Regions from separate parts of the Homo sapiens genome. Here region 1 is linked to region 2. Evidence: promoter capture Hi-C in human tissues and cell types (Jung and others, 2019). All regions are on one chromosome and are shown on one strand. Each heading gives the region's core, a stretch centred on a gene start or on the middle of the fragment in contact. The rest is flanking DNA. Distances are from core to core; before and after follow the strand shown. Region 1 overlaps ZC3H7B (zinc finger CCCH-type containing 7B). Region 2 holds the start of CHADL (chondroadherin like).

Region 1 (5,792 bases), core at 1,415-3,914, 85 kb after region 2:
CGCAGACTGGGTCCCTTTTCACACGCCCTCGGTATCCATGCTGCTCTCACAGAGCGAGTGTTCATATTGACACAACACATTCTCCTTCCTCAGCGCACAACGCAGTCACTTTTCCTGGCCGCTTCTGGAGGGTGTCCTGCGCTGGGCTGATTTGATTAGGGGTTTTGGGTGCACCTAGAGCATGGCCCCAAGTTCAGCACCCCTTCCCTGGGCTGTTGTCCAACCCCACCTTGCTGCCATGGCTGGGAGTTTGCAAACCCTCCTCAGACTTGTTCATCAGAGCGGTTGCTAGCTCATCTCTCTTCATGGGCGGCAGGTCCTCTCCCATTTTGGGGAGTGAGGGTTTGATTTTGGGGAAGTGTTCCAATTTATTCAGAGGCCAGTCTGGTGAACAAGGTGACTCCGGCCACTGCTGTCTTCCATAAGAAGAGTTCTGTGTCCCCAGCCTCAGTCACTGATGTCTGTAGAGCTGGATTCCCAGCCCAGTTCTCCCATTTCCCCTACGGGGTCATTGTGAAGGTTAAGGGACCAGGTGGTGCTTGGGGTAAATGTTCACTCTCGTCCCCTCCTTCTCCTTTCCAAAGGGGCGTTCTAGGAAGGCCCAGCTACAAGGCAGCCTCCCCGAAGCCGTCTGTTGGCCTCCTAAGGCTTTGCAGGAAGCACAGTGGGACTCACTGCTTTTCACATCAGTCCCGCTATTTTTGCCCCACTCCTCCTACGCTGTGTTGGTGCACGTGTGCTTCATGTGCTTAGCACGTCCTGAGAGCCCTAAGTGAATTGGGACAGGTGGGTTGGCCCCAGCTTGCAGAGGACCTTAAGATGTCTACGGCCGGGCGCGGTGGCTCATGCCTGTAATCCCAGCACTTTGGGAGGCCAAGGCAGGCGGATCATGAGGTCAGGAGATCCCGACCATCCCGGCTAACATGGTGAAACCCTGTCTCTACTAAAAATACAAAAAATTAGCCAGGCGTGGTGGCGGGCGCTTGTAGTCCCAGCTACTCTGGAGGCTGAGGCAGGAGAATGGCGTGAACCCGGGAGGTGGAGGTTGCAGTGAGCCGAGATTGGGCCACTGCACTCCAGCCTGGGCGACACAGCGAGACTCTGTCTGGAAAAAAAAAAAGATGTCTTAGGACCGCATGACCTATGAAAGGTAGAGTTGATGCTGGAAGAGGGTAGGCTGGAGGCAGGAGGCCAGGAAGGTAGTGATGGGGTCTTTAGTGGGGGCAACAGAGGAGACAGACACTGCAGCAGTATGGGGAGGGAGGGCAGGTCTGGGGCCCAGACAGTGGGGAGGCAAGTGAGAGGTGGGCTGGTGAGCCCCGATGTCACAACTGGGGACACCTTCCACACGCATGTGCATACACAGCCCTCCTGGCGTTGCGCCTCTGCCCACCTCTCACGCACTAGCCTAGGCCACTCTTTCCTGCCCAGGTGCTGGCAGCATCTCCAGGCAACGGAAAGATCTCCCCAGCCCTGCATCCGATGCCTTCCTGCCAAGCAGCCTTGGGCGAGTCCTTGCGCCACTCTGAGCGTCTGTTTTTCCCTCTGTGGAATGAAGGACTGGGAGACAAAGCCCAGCTTCCCTTCCAGCCTGGCCATTGAGCCCATTGGAGAGATGAACCTCAGTTCTCCTGGGCTGATGCCCTCTTTCATACTGAGGGAGCATTAGCCACAGGAGGGAGCAGGTGCCCAGACCCCACCTAGAATGATTTGTTGAGTCCAGCATGAGGGACTGACAGGCTCAGTGAAGACCTGGCATTGGGTGGGGCGTGTGTTATGTGGGATTGGGCAGGGGAGGGGCCTGAGGTGGACTCCCGGTGCCTCAGTGTCTGTGGACCTGTGGTCTCGGATTTGGTTTGATGGGGCGTGGTCCTTCCCAAGGCCTGTTCTAGGTGTTAATTCCCTGACAACACTCATACTTCCTGCCTTTTCCTGCCTGCTCCTGTCCCTGGCACTCCTGCTGCAGCAGCCCCTGCACCATCCTCTCCTCCTGGCCTTCAGCTGCAGCTGGAGCCTTCCCCCGCTCTGCCTTGGCCAGAGTCTGATTTTCCTCTTGTCCTTTTCCAGTCCTGGGGGCCTCCTAGGCCCAAGTGTGGCTCCTCCCTCCTTCCCCTCATGTAACTGAGAAAGGGCTTGGAATGCCTGCTTTCCTTTAGGAGAGGGCTGGTTTTTTCAGCAGAGGATGGCTGTTTTTTTCAGCAGCAGGGACTGGGGCTAGGTCCAGGGCCAGAGGTAGAGCTGGAACTGAGCTGGGCTAGGACTGGCTTGGGGCTGGGGCTGTCTGGGTTGGGGCTGGAGCTGGGGCTGTGGCTGGAAGTGGGGCTGGAACTGGGGCCAGGCTGGAGGTGGGGCTGGGGTCAGTCTGCTCTTTCTCAACACCTGTACCTGGCAAAACCTGGCTGTCTGGCCCCAAGGAACATGCAGGTCCTTCCATCAGAACTGGAAGGCCTGCATGGCAATGATTTAGGAGAAGAAAACCGCAGTCTGTTCACCCTAGTCCACAAGGTGATGGCTGAGGTCTGAGTTGGAGGAGTAGCTCTGGACCTCCATGAAGCTGGGACCGCCGGGCTCACCCAGGCCTCGTGTTTTCTTTTCCTGATAGGTCGACACTACCCCTAAAGCAAGAAGAATATGAGGTGAGTGTCAGCTGCCAGGCTGAGCAAAGGTGAAGGGCGGAGATGTGCAGGGGAGAGGCGTGGGCCGGGTGCCAGAGCTGGGGCCAGAGGTCATGAGCCCCCTACACACCTTGCCCCCAACAGGCCTTTCTGCTCAAGCTGGTGCAGAATCTGTTTGCTGAGGGCAATGATCTGTTCCGGGAGAAGGACTATAAGCAGGCTCTGGTGCAGTACATGGAAGGGCTGAACGTGGCCGACTACGCTGCCTCTGACCAGGTGGCCCTGCCCCGGGAGCTGCTGTGCAAGCTGCATGTCAATAGGGCCGCCTGCTACTTCACCATGGTGAGCCTGGCACCCTCTTTTCTCTCCTCCTCTGCTGCCCTGATCCCCTGGATGCCCAGTCGAGCCAGGCCCATACCCCAGTGAGCCTGTAGACCAGGGCCAGCCTCCTCCCAGCCTGCTTTCAGAATTTCATTGTCTGTTCTCGTGGCTCTTAATCTCAACTGTACAACATGCTCAGCTGGAGAGCTTTTAAAAGTACGGATGCATAATAAAAAGTTTTTAAAAAAAATGATACTGATGCCCTAGCCCTAGCCCTGCCCTAGATGAAGTAAGTTAGAATCTTGGGGTGACCCTGGGCCTTGGTGGGAGTCTGACTTCTCCTGCTCCTCCCTCCCGGCCCCACTGTTTCTTCCATAGCCTCAGCCTCCTCACTGTTCCTTCCATAGCCTCAGCCTCCTCACTGTTCCTCCCATAGCCTCAGCCTCCTCACTGTTCCTCCCATAGCCTCAGCCTCCTCACTGTTTCTTCCGTAGCCTCCTCACTGTTCCTCCCATAGCCTCAGCCTCCTCACTGTTTCTTCCATAGCCTCCTCACTGTTTCTTCCATAGCCTCCTCACTGTTCCTCCCATAGTCTCAGCCTCCTCACTGTTCCTCCCATAGCCTCAGCCTCCTCACTGTTCCTCCCATAGCCTCAGCCTCCTCACTGTTTCTCCCATAGCCTCAGCCTCCTGTTTCTTTGCGGACTTCAGTGCCTTCCTCCTCCTCCTCCTCTCCTCCTTAGAGCTGCAGCCTCCTCCTCTTCCCTGTCCTGTGCACCCACTGACTCAGGTTCATGAGATCCTGTGGGAGGCTCTGCTGCAGGCTCTCTAGAGGACCCCATGACACCTCTGCCATCCAGCGAACTCTTCTGGATAAATGGCTCCTGGATGCCTCAGGGTTAACCCTTGTACACTCTGCACACAGAGCTGCCTTCATGGTCTCACTGCCTCTTAGAGATGCCATTGTTACTCTCAGCTCATCATGTTCCCAACCAAAGGCAGAGATGGAAATAGACGTGCTTGAGTGGCCGGGCTCATGGTTGTAGATCTTCAGGCCCTTCCCTGCAATATCCTGCCCGTGCCCACTGCAGCCCCATCAGCTGGACACACAGACACCCTTGATCAGAGTCTGGACACCAGAGTGCTTCCTTCTCTCCTGGAGCCTCGAGCCCTGTCCCTGACCCAAGACTTCAGCTCCTCTGTCTCTGCCAGGAAGGGAAGCTGGTGTTCCTTCCTAGGCAGGGGCAGGAGGCCTGGGGGAGGGAGGGTAACAGGTGTTGACCAGTGACCACATGCTCCTCTCTGGCAGGGCCTGTATGAGAAGGCGCTGGAGGACAGCGAGAAGGCGCTGGGCCTGGACAGTGAGAGTATCCGGGCGTTGTTCCGCAAGGCACGCGCTCTCAATGAACTGGGACGCCACAAGGAGGCCTACGAGTGCAGCAGCCGGTGTTCCCTCGCCCTGCCCCACGTGAGTGTGGCTCTGCAGCCACGCCGGTGCCTGCTCAGAGGCCAGGCTTCTGACCTTCCGGCCCTCACTTGGGCCCAGCCACCACATCCTTCTGTGTCTCACTTCCTCCCCTGTGACATGGCCATGCAGATCCTGATGTTAACACTAGCTCCCATTCTCTGAGCGCTGACTGGGTGCCAGGCACTGCTAGGATGCATTGTGTGTATTAACTCACCTAATACTGGCAATAACCCTAAGAGGCAGATACTGTGATTATTCTCATTTTAAAGATGATGAGGCCAGACACAGTGGCTCACGCCTGTAATCTCAGCACTTTCGGAGGCTGAGGCAGGCGGATCACCTGAGGTCAGGAGTTTGAGACCAGCCTGGCCAACATGGCAAAACCCCATCTCTACAAAAAATACAAAATTTAGCCGGGCATGATGGCGTGTGCCTGTTTTGCTAATTCTGTTTAGTTCACAATTAAGACCCTTTCTTGGCCAGACACAGTGGCTCATGCCTGTAATCCCAGCACTGTGGGAGGCCAAGGCGGGAGGATCACTTGAGCTCAGGAGTTTGCAACTAGCCTGAGCAACATAGCAAGACCCTGTTTCAACAAAAAATTAAAAAAAAATTAGCTGGGCATGATGGCACGCACCTGAGATCCCAGCTACTCAGGAGGCTGAGGTGGGAGGATCACTTGAGCCCAGGAGGTGGAGGTTGCAGTGAGCTGTGATTGCACCATTGCACTTCAGCCTGAGTTTGACAAAGCAAGAGCTTGTCTATTAAAAAAAAAAAAAGCCTTTCTTTATGACCATGGTCCCCTGACCCATATAGCATTTTAGAGTGTCCACAACAGATCCACACCTAGGTCTCACTGGTACTTACTCATGAGGAGGACAGGGCAGGTTTCATCCGCACCACAGCGGATAGAAAGGAGCTGGGACCCAGTTAGGGTTAGTAAATGGCCAGGGAAAGTAACTAAGGGCTCCTGGCTCTGCTTTAGGGAACTCTCTCTTTTCCCAATCTTTGTTGGGCAAATACTGACCGAGCTCCTGCTCCATGCTGGGCACTGGGGACCAGAGATGACTCCGACCCAGGCCCTGGCCTCTAGGAGATTGTCAGTGAGGTAGGAGGTAGACACGTGCACAGATGTCACAGTGTCTTCCTTGCCCTTTTGTGCCTGGACCCCAGTTTGTAGCCACCTGTTTCTTTGTTCACTGACTGTTCTCCCCCTTTAGATTGGAATCTCCATGAGGCCTGGGCCCATCTGCCCTGTTCGCTGGGGTATCCTTAGCCCCTCACTCTTGCTTGGCACGTAGTGTATGTTCTGTATTACAGCCTTGGAAGGGAAGGAAGGATGGTTGCTGTTTAGTGATCACTAAGTGTGGTCCAGGCACTGTTACAAGC
Region 2 (6,192 bases), core at 2,804-5,303:
AATGGCAAAACCTCTTGGGGGCTCTCAATATGTACAAACAGTAGATGACTGCATGGTCCCAAATTCCTCCCTCCTCTATGCTCCAGCAATACCGTCCTGTGCAGGCACCGTGTGTGGCCTGGGTTCTGCCCGGACTGTCACTCACACCGGTAGGGGCAGTCCTGGTTTATCTCAGGGTCCCCGTGCCCAGGCTGAGACCTGGCACCAAGGGGCTGGCAAATGCTTGTTGAGTGAATGCACGCTGCCTGTGGCCTTGTGCCGCCTCCTGCACCAACCCCGCCAGATGCCCAGTGCCCACCTGCTCCAGGCCACTGCTGTTCAGGAAGAGGTGCTGCAGCGACCTGCCCACAGGCTGGAAGGCTCCGTCACGCAAGGCCCTGAGTGGGTTGCCCGAGAGCTGCAGCTCCAGGAGGGCAGGCAGCCCCTCCAAGGCCCCAGTGGGCACCTCTCGCAGCTGATTCCTGTCCAGGTGCAGCTTCTCCAGCTCCCGAGCTGGGCCCAGCGCCCCAAGGGACACTTCGGTGATGCGGTTTCCACTCAGGTAGACCCAGCGCAAGGCCCGTGTTCTCCCCAGGTCCCCAGGTGCCAGGCGGTCCACAGCGTTGTCCTGCAGGTGCAGGGAGAAGAGGCTGGGCAGGGCGCGCAGGGCAGCCCCTGGCACCTGCAGGAAACGGTTGCGTTCTAGGTACAGGTAGCCGAGGCGGGGAGCCCCTTCAAGGGCAGCAGCGCTGAGGCCTGCGAGCTGGTTGTCGGAGAGGTACAGGTAGATCAGGCGGCCCAGCCCGGCCAGGGCGCCCGCTTCCAGCTCCGCGATGCCGCAGTGCTGCAGGTGCAGCGACACCAGGTGGCCCAGGCCGGGGAAGGCCGCTCGGGGCACCGAGGGGAAGTGGTTCCGCCTCAGGTCCAGGAGCTGGGTGTCGCTGGGGAAGCCGCGGGGCACCGCCTGCAGGCCGCAGCCCTCGCAGCTGCTGTGCCGGGACTCGGGGACGCACACGCAGGCGCGAGGGCAAGGCGCGACTGCCCGCTCCTCCCCGGGGCCGCGCGGAGGGCCGCGCGGAGGGGCGCGGGGCCCGGCCACAGCCCGCTCTTCCAGCTCTTCCTCTTCCTGCGCCGCGTCCCCAGGGCAGCGCAGGTCCCAGGGCCGCAGGGCGTCCAGAGCCTCGCCCCGCAGGCGCCGCGGCCCCTGGCACGCGCCGTCCGAGCGCACGCGCGCCCGCGCCAGCCACTCGAGTAGGGGCCGCGCCTGGCAGCCGCACCACAGCGGATTCCCCTGCAGCCGCAGCCGGCGCAGCTGGCCCGGGCCCTGCAGCGGGGGCAGGGTGTCTAGCTGGTTCCCGCGGAGGTCGAGGGTGTGCAGGCGCGGACAGTGTGCGAAGGCCCTGGGACCCAGGGCCTGCAGGGCCCCGCCGTCCAGCAGCAGCTCCCGCAGGCCGGGCAGCGCCAGCCCGTCCTCCTCGCCCGCGTAGGTGAGCGGGTTGTGGCCCAGCTCCAGACGGGCCAGGCCGCGGGCCTGGGACAAGACAGGCCCGGGCAGAGCCTGGAGCTCGTTGTGGTGTAGGCTGAGCCGTCTCAGGGCGGGCAGGCCAGCCAGGGCCTCGGGGGCCAGCACGCTGAGCGCGTTGTGCGACAGCCGCAGCCAGCGGACGCGCAGTAGCCCCTGGAAGGCCATGGCGGGCAGGTAAACCAGGGCGTTGTGGGCCAGGTTTAGCGTGGCCAGCGCACCCAGTGCCCCGAACGTCCCCGGCCGCAGCTCCTCCAGTGCGTTCCCCTCCAGCTCCAGCCGCCGCAACGAGCCCAGCCCGTCCAGCGCCTCCTGGGGCAGCTCACGCAGGTGGTTGGAGGCCAGGTTGAGCAGGAGCAGGCGGCCCAGGCCACGGAAGGCGCCCTCGGCCACCAGCTCCACCTCGCAGTGGCGCAGGTCCAGGTGTGTGAGGTGAGGCACGCCCTGGAAGGCGGCTGCGGGGATCACCTTCAGCAAATTGCCCTGCAGGTCCAGCCGCTGGGTCAGCTGGGGACAGCGAGGAGAAAGTGGGGCTGAGCCAGGCAGGGACCCCGCCTTTGCAAGTGCTGCTTCTTCCCCGGAACACTCTTTTCTCCTGTCACCTTTCCCATATTTCTCTTCATCCGACCCCTGACACCTCCTCCAGGAAGCCTTCCTCTCCAGTGCCCTGGGCATCACCCACTGTGGCATTTTTCACACTGTGCTGTCCCTGCCTCCTCGCTCTCTCTCCTCCACTAGCTGATGACTCTGCAGAGCAGAGACCACACCTCACCCTGCCACAGCCCGCCTCTCCACCACAGGGTCTGCAGTGAATTCAGTATCGATCTATGGGTCACCTACTTATTCCATTCACACAGTAAGGATTTTAAATAGATCATCTCCCTGTTACTGGTTTTTATTATTCCCATTTTACAGAAGTGTAAACTGAGGCTCAAAGAGAAGTAATTTGCCAAGGTCTCCCGGGCAGGCGGTGGCAGATCAACTGGTGCCCAGCCCAGGCTCCTCCCTCTGGGTCCCCACCTTGCCCCACTGCCACTCTGTGCCTGTGCTCCTGCCCTGCTGACCTCAGGGATGGCGTCTGGCACCTCAGTGAGGTTCTGGTACCGGCAGGCAACGTGTCGCCTGGAGTTGTCACAGATGCAGGCCTGTGGGCAGCGCTGGGCGGCGGCCTGCCTAGCCGGGGCCAGCAGCAGAAGTACAAGAAGCGGCAGCACCAAGGGGACATGGGTGGAGCTCCGGGGCCTGGGACGGGGAGGGAGAGTCTGTTGTGCACAAGGGCCGAGGCCACATGCTGTCCCTCACTTAGTCCCAGCCATGGTGCAGCTCCTGCCCCAAAAACCCCTCAGAGCCTCCTCCTTTGGGCCCAGGAAAGTGCCAATCACCCTGAGCCTCCCTGCCCCCCACCCCCCACGCAGTGGAGGTCCTATGATTAGTCCTGTTTTACATGGGAGGAAACCGAGGCTCAGAAAAGTGACCTGGTTAGTCCCTTTGCCTCTGCCCAATGGCTCAGTGAGGACTTGCTGACTGTGAGAATGACTCCAGTTCAGAGCATGTTCTCAGGCTGTGGTGAGGCTCTGGTCCAGGGTAGGCTCGGAAGCAGCCTGTCCTCAGACTGATATGATGCCAGCTCCCAGGTGGCAGGAGCATAATGGTACCCCCCAGAAAGGAGGGAGGCATCCAGTCCGGGTCCTTGAGTCTTTTTTTGTTTGTTTGTTTAAATAGAGACAAGCCTTGCTCTGTTGCCCAGGCTGGAGTCTGGAGTGCAGTGGAATGACTATGGCTTACTGCAGCCTTCACCTCCTGGGCTAAAGTGATCCTCTCACCTCAGCCTCTTGAGTAGCTGGGACTACAGGCACACACCACCACGCCTGGCTAATTTTTTAATTACTTCTGGTAGAGACAGGGTCTCGCTATGTTGCCCGGGCTGGTCTTGAACTCCTGGCCTCAAGTGATTGTCCCACCTTGGCCTCCCAAAGCGCTAGGATGATAGATCACCTCCCCTGCCCAGCTGGCCCCTCTGTTCTCAGCCTGTGTCAGGCATGGCCTCTCCCCCATCGCTGGGCTGTTCCCCGGCCCCCAGGAGCCTCCCCCTCGCTGCTCACTGGACTATCGTCTGTTTTGGAGTCTCCTTTGGGTCCCAGGCTCCAGCCCCTGCGTTGGAGTTGGTGGCTTCTCCAGAGCCTGTGGTGAAGGCTGTGCCTCAGGGCAGGCCAGGGAGGGGACCCATGGGGACAGATCGCTGAAGCGACAAGCATTCATAATGCAGGGACCACTGCTGGGCTCTCAGACAAGCCCCAGAGGACCAGTTCCTGGCAGTGGCCACATTGCCACGTGTCTCAGAGCCCACCTTGGGAGACCCCCTTCCTGGAGAACCCCAGGAAGTCCCCAGAGCCCCTGCCCGCCAGCCTCTGAGAGGCCCAGAGGGGGCAGAGACTTACCTGAGGCCACTGAGCTGCTCTGAATCCCCCCTTGCACCATCGGGCCCAAAGACTCACCCCTCCATGCCGCCTGGAACTGCTGGTCCAGCCTGGAGGCGCAGCGCAGGGACAGGCTGTCCCCGCCTGGCAGGAGCCCCCCTCCACGGCCCGCAGGCCTGGCAGCTGGGACAGGGCTGAATGGGAGGCATTGTCGGCAGACCAGGCAAGCCAGGCTTCCCCAGGCTGAGGTGAAGAAGGGGCGGGCGGCGGGCGGGAGCAGCGGCTGGAGTTACAGGGCCTCCTGCCTGCCCCAGCCGAGGACTGAGGCCCCGGCCTGAATCCTTGGGCCAGCCCGACAGGGAGGGGGCACCAGCAGCTGGCCCGGGAGTCAGCAGTCCTGGGCTCCCTCCTGCCATGTGGGCTGCCCTCCCAGAGGCTGCTTCCTAGTCTCTGAAAAACACATCCCATTAATAAGTAGCTCTGAGGTCACAGTGGGGGTTCAGGCCCGCACCTGGCACACAGTGGGTGCTTCAGAACAGGTGACCCTTTCCTTCCGTTTGTGCTTACACATTGACATAAATAGTTTAATACTGGACACACAGGATTCTAGACACTCATTTTTTTCACTTAACCTCAGATTACTGGGAGTTATCCAAATTGACTCTTCCGAATCTCATTATTCTGTGGTATATAGTATTCCATTGTGTAAATGTATCACATTGACTTAGCCATTCATCTTGGACATTGGCTACCTCCAATTTTTTGCTATTTACAAACAATATTGCAAAGAATATCCAAATACGCATCTTCCCAAGCTCGTGTTTGTTTTTTAAATAATACATCCAGACCATGGCCAATGTTCATGTATCTTGATTTTTCAGATTCCTGCTTCTGATGGAATTGCATCTTCTACTGTTTGTTCCTTTAATTGGAAACAGGGGTCAGGCACAGTGGCTCATGCCTGTAATCCCAGCACTTTGGGAGGCTGAGGTGGGAGGATCACTTGAGCCCAGGAGTTTGAGACCAGCCTGGGCAACACAGACTCTGTCTCAAGAGAAAAAAAAAAGGCCGGGCGCGGTGGCTCACGCCTGTAATCCCAGCACTTTGGGAGGCGGAGGCGGGTGGATCACGAGGTCGAGATCAAGACCATCCTGGCTAACACAGTGAAACCCTATCTCTACTAAAAGTACAAAAAATTAGCCGGGTGTGGTGGCAGGCGCCTGTAGTCCCAGCTACTTGGGAGGCTGAGGCAGGCAAATGGCATGAACGCGAGAGCCGAGATGGCGCCACTGCACTCTAGCCTGGGCAACAGAGTGAAACTGTCTCAAAAAAGAAAAAAAATATATACATATATATATATATATATATATATATATATATATATATATATATATATATGTATGTGTGTGTGTATACACTTATGTGTGTATATATTTATATATAATAAAAATATAAATGTATATGTTTATATATATTTATATATGTTAAACAATGAACATCTGTGTGTACTTTTCCTAGACTGCAGGAGTTTTTTGTTTTTTGAGACAGAGTCTCACTTTATCGCCCAGGCTGGAGCTCACTGCAACCTCCACCTCCCTGGTTCATGCGATTCTCCTGCCTCAGCTTCCCAAGTAGCTGGGATGACAGATGTGTACCACCACATCTGGTTAATTTTTGCATTTTTAGTAGAGACGGGGTTTCGCCATGTTGGCCAGGCCGGTCCCGAACTCCTGACCTCAAGTGATCTGCCCGCCTTGATCTCCCAAAGTGCTGGGATTACAGGCATGAGTCACCACGCCCAGCCCTGCAGTAACATTTTAAAAAAAGAAATAGTGCCATGCCACACAGCCATCTGCTTTGTGCTTTTTTTGCTTGGCAAATTCCAATCAATGGAACTTCAGTGTGCTCTTTCGTCCTTTTTTTGAGACAGGGTCTCACTGTTGCCCAGGTGTGAGTGAAGTGTGATCATGGCTCACTGCGGCCTTGACATACCAGCCTCCCAAGCAGCTGGGACCTCCAGATATGCACCGCCACCTCCAGCTGGTTTTAAAATTTGTTGTAGAGTTGGGGTCTTGCTATGTTGTCCAGGCTGGTCTTGAACTCCGGGGCACAAGTGATCCTCCCACCTCGGCCTCCCAAAGCGTTAGGATTACAGGCATGAGCCACTGCACCTGGCTGTGTCTGGCGTTTTCCACTCAATATTATGTTAGTGAGAATCATCTTTTTATTTTTTTTTTGAGACGGAGTCTAGCTCTCGTTGCCCAGGCTAGAGTA

Evidence for each region. The method cuts DNA at HindIII sites, captures the fragments that hold promoters and counts their contacts. A contact is called where the count stands out against the background at its distance.
Region 1: a fragment that was not itself captured here is called in contact with the fragment with the promoter of CHADL in region 2 in 2 of the 25 tissues and cell types used here (dorsolateral prefrontal cortex and mesenchymal stem cells).

The regions. Positions count from the first base shown.
Region 1 is chr22:41,322,962-41,328,753 of GRCh38, forward strand. ZC3H7B (zinc finger CCCH-type containing 7B) reads left to right here. Exons shown (of 23, transcript NM_017590.6): 3 at 2,603-2,636; 4 at 2,760-2,957; 5 at 4,245-4,403. Among named protein-coding and RNA genes, the nearest start is that of ZC3H7B, 24 kb to the left of the region's middle. RefSeq lists an enhancer at 1,185-1,685. The HindIII fragment of the contact is 6,758 bases long and covers 1-5,792 here.
Region 2 is chr22:41,236,878-41,243,069 of GRCh38, forward strand. It overlaps CHADL (chondroadherin like), which reads right to left and starts at 4,054. Exons shown (of 6, transcript NM_138481.2): 1 at 3,997-4,054; 2 at 2,566-2,743; 3 at 299-2,008. The coding sequence starts at 4,004. RefSeq lists enhancers at 1-441, 442-1,030, 1,031-1,619, 3,657-4,157, 4,158-4,658 and 1 more and silencers at 805-904, 965-1,344. The HindIII fragment of the contact is 27,215 bases long and covers 1-6,192 here.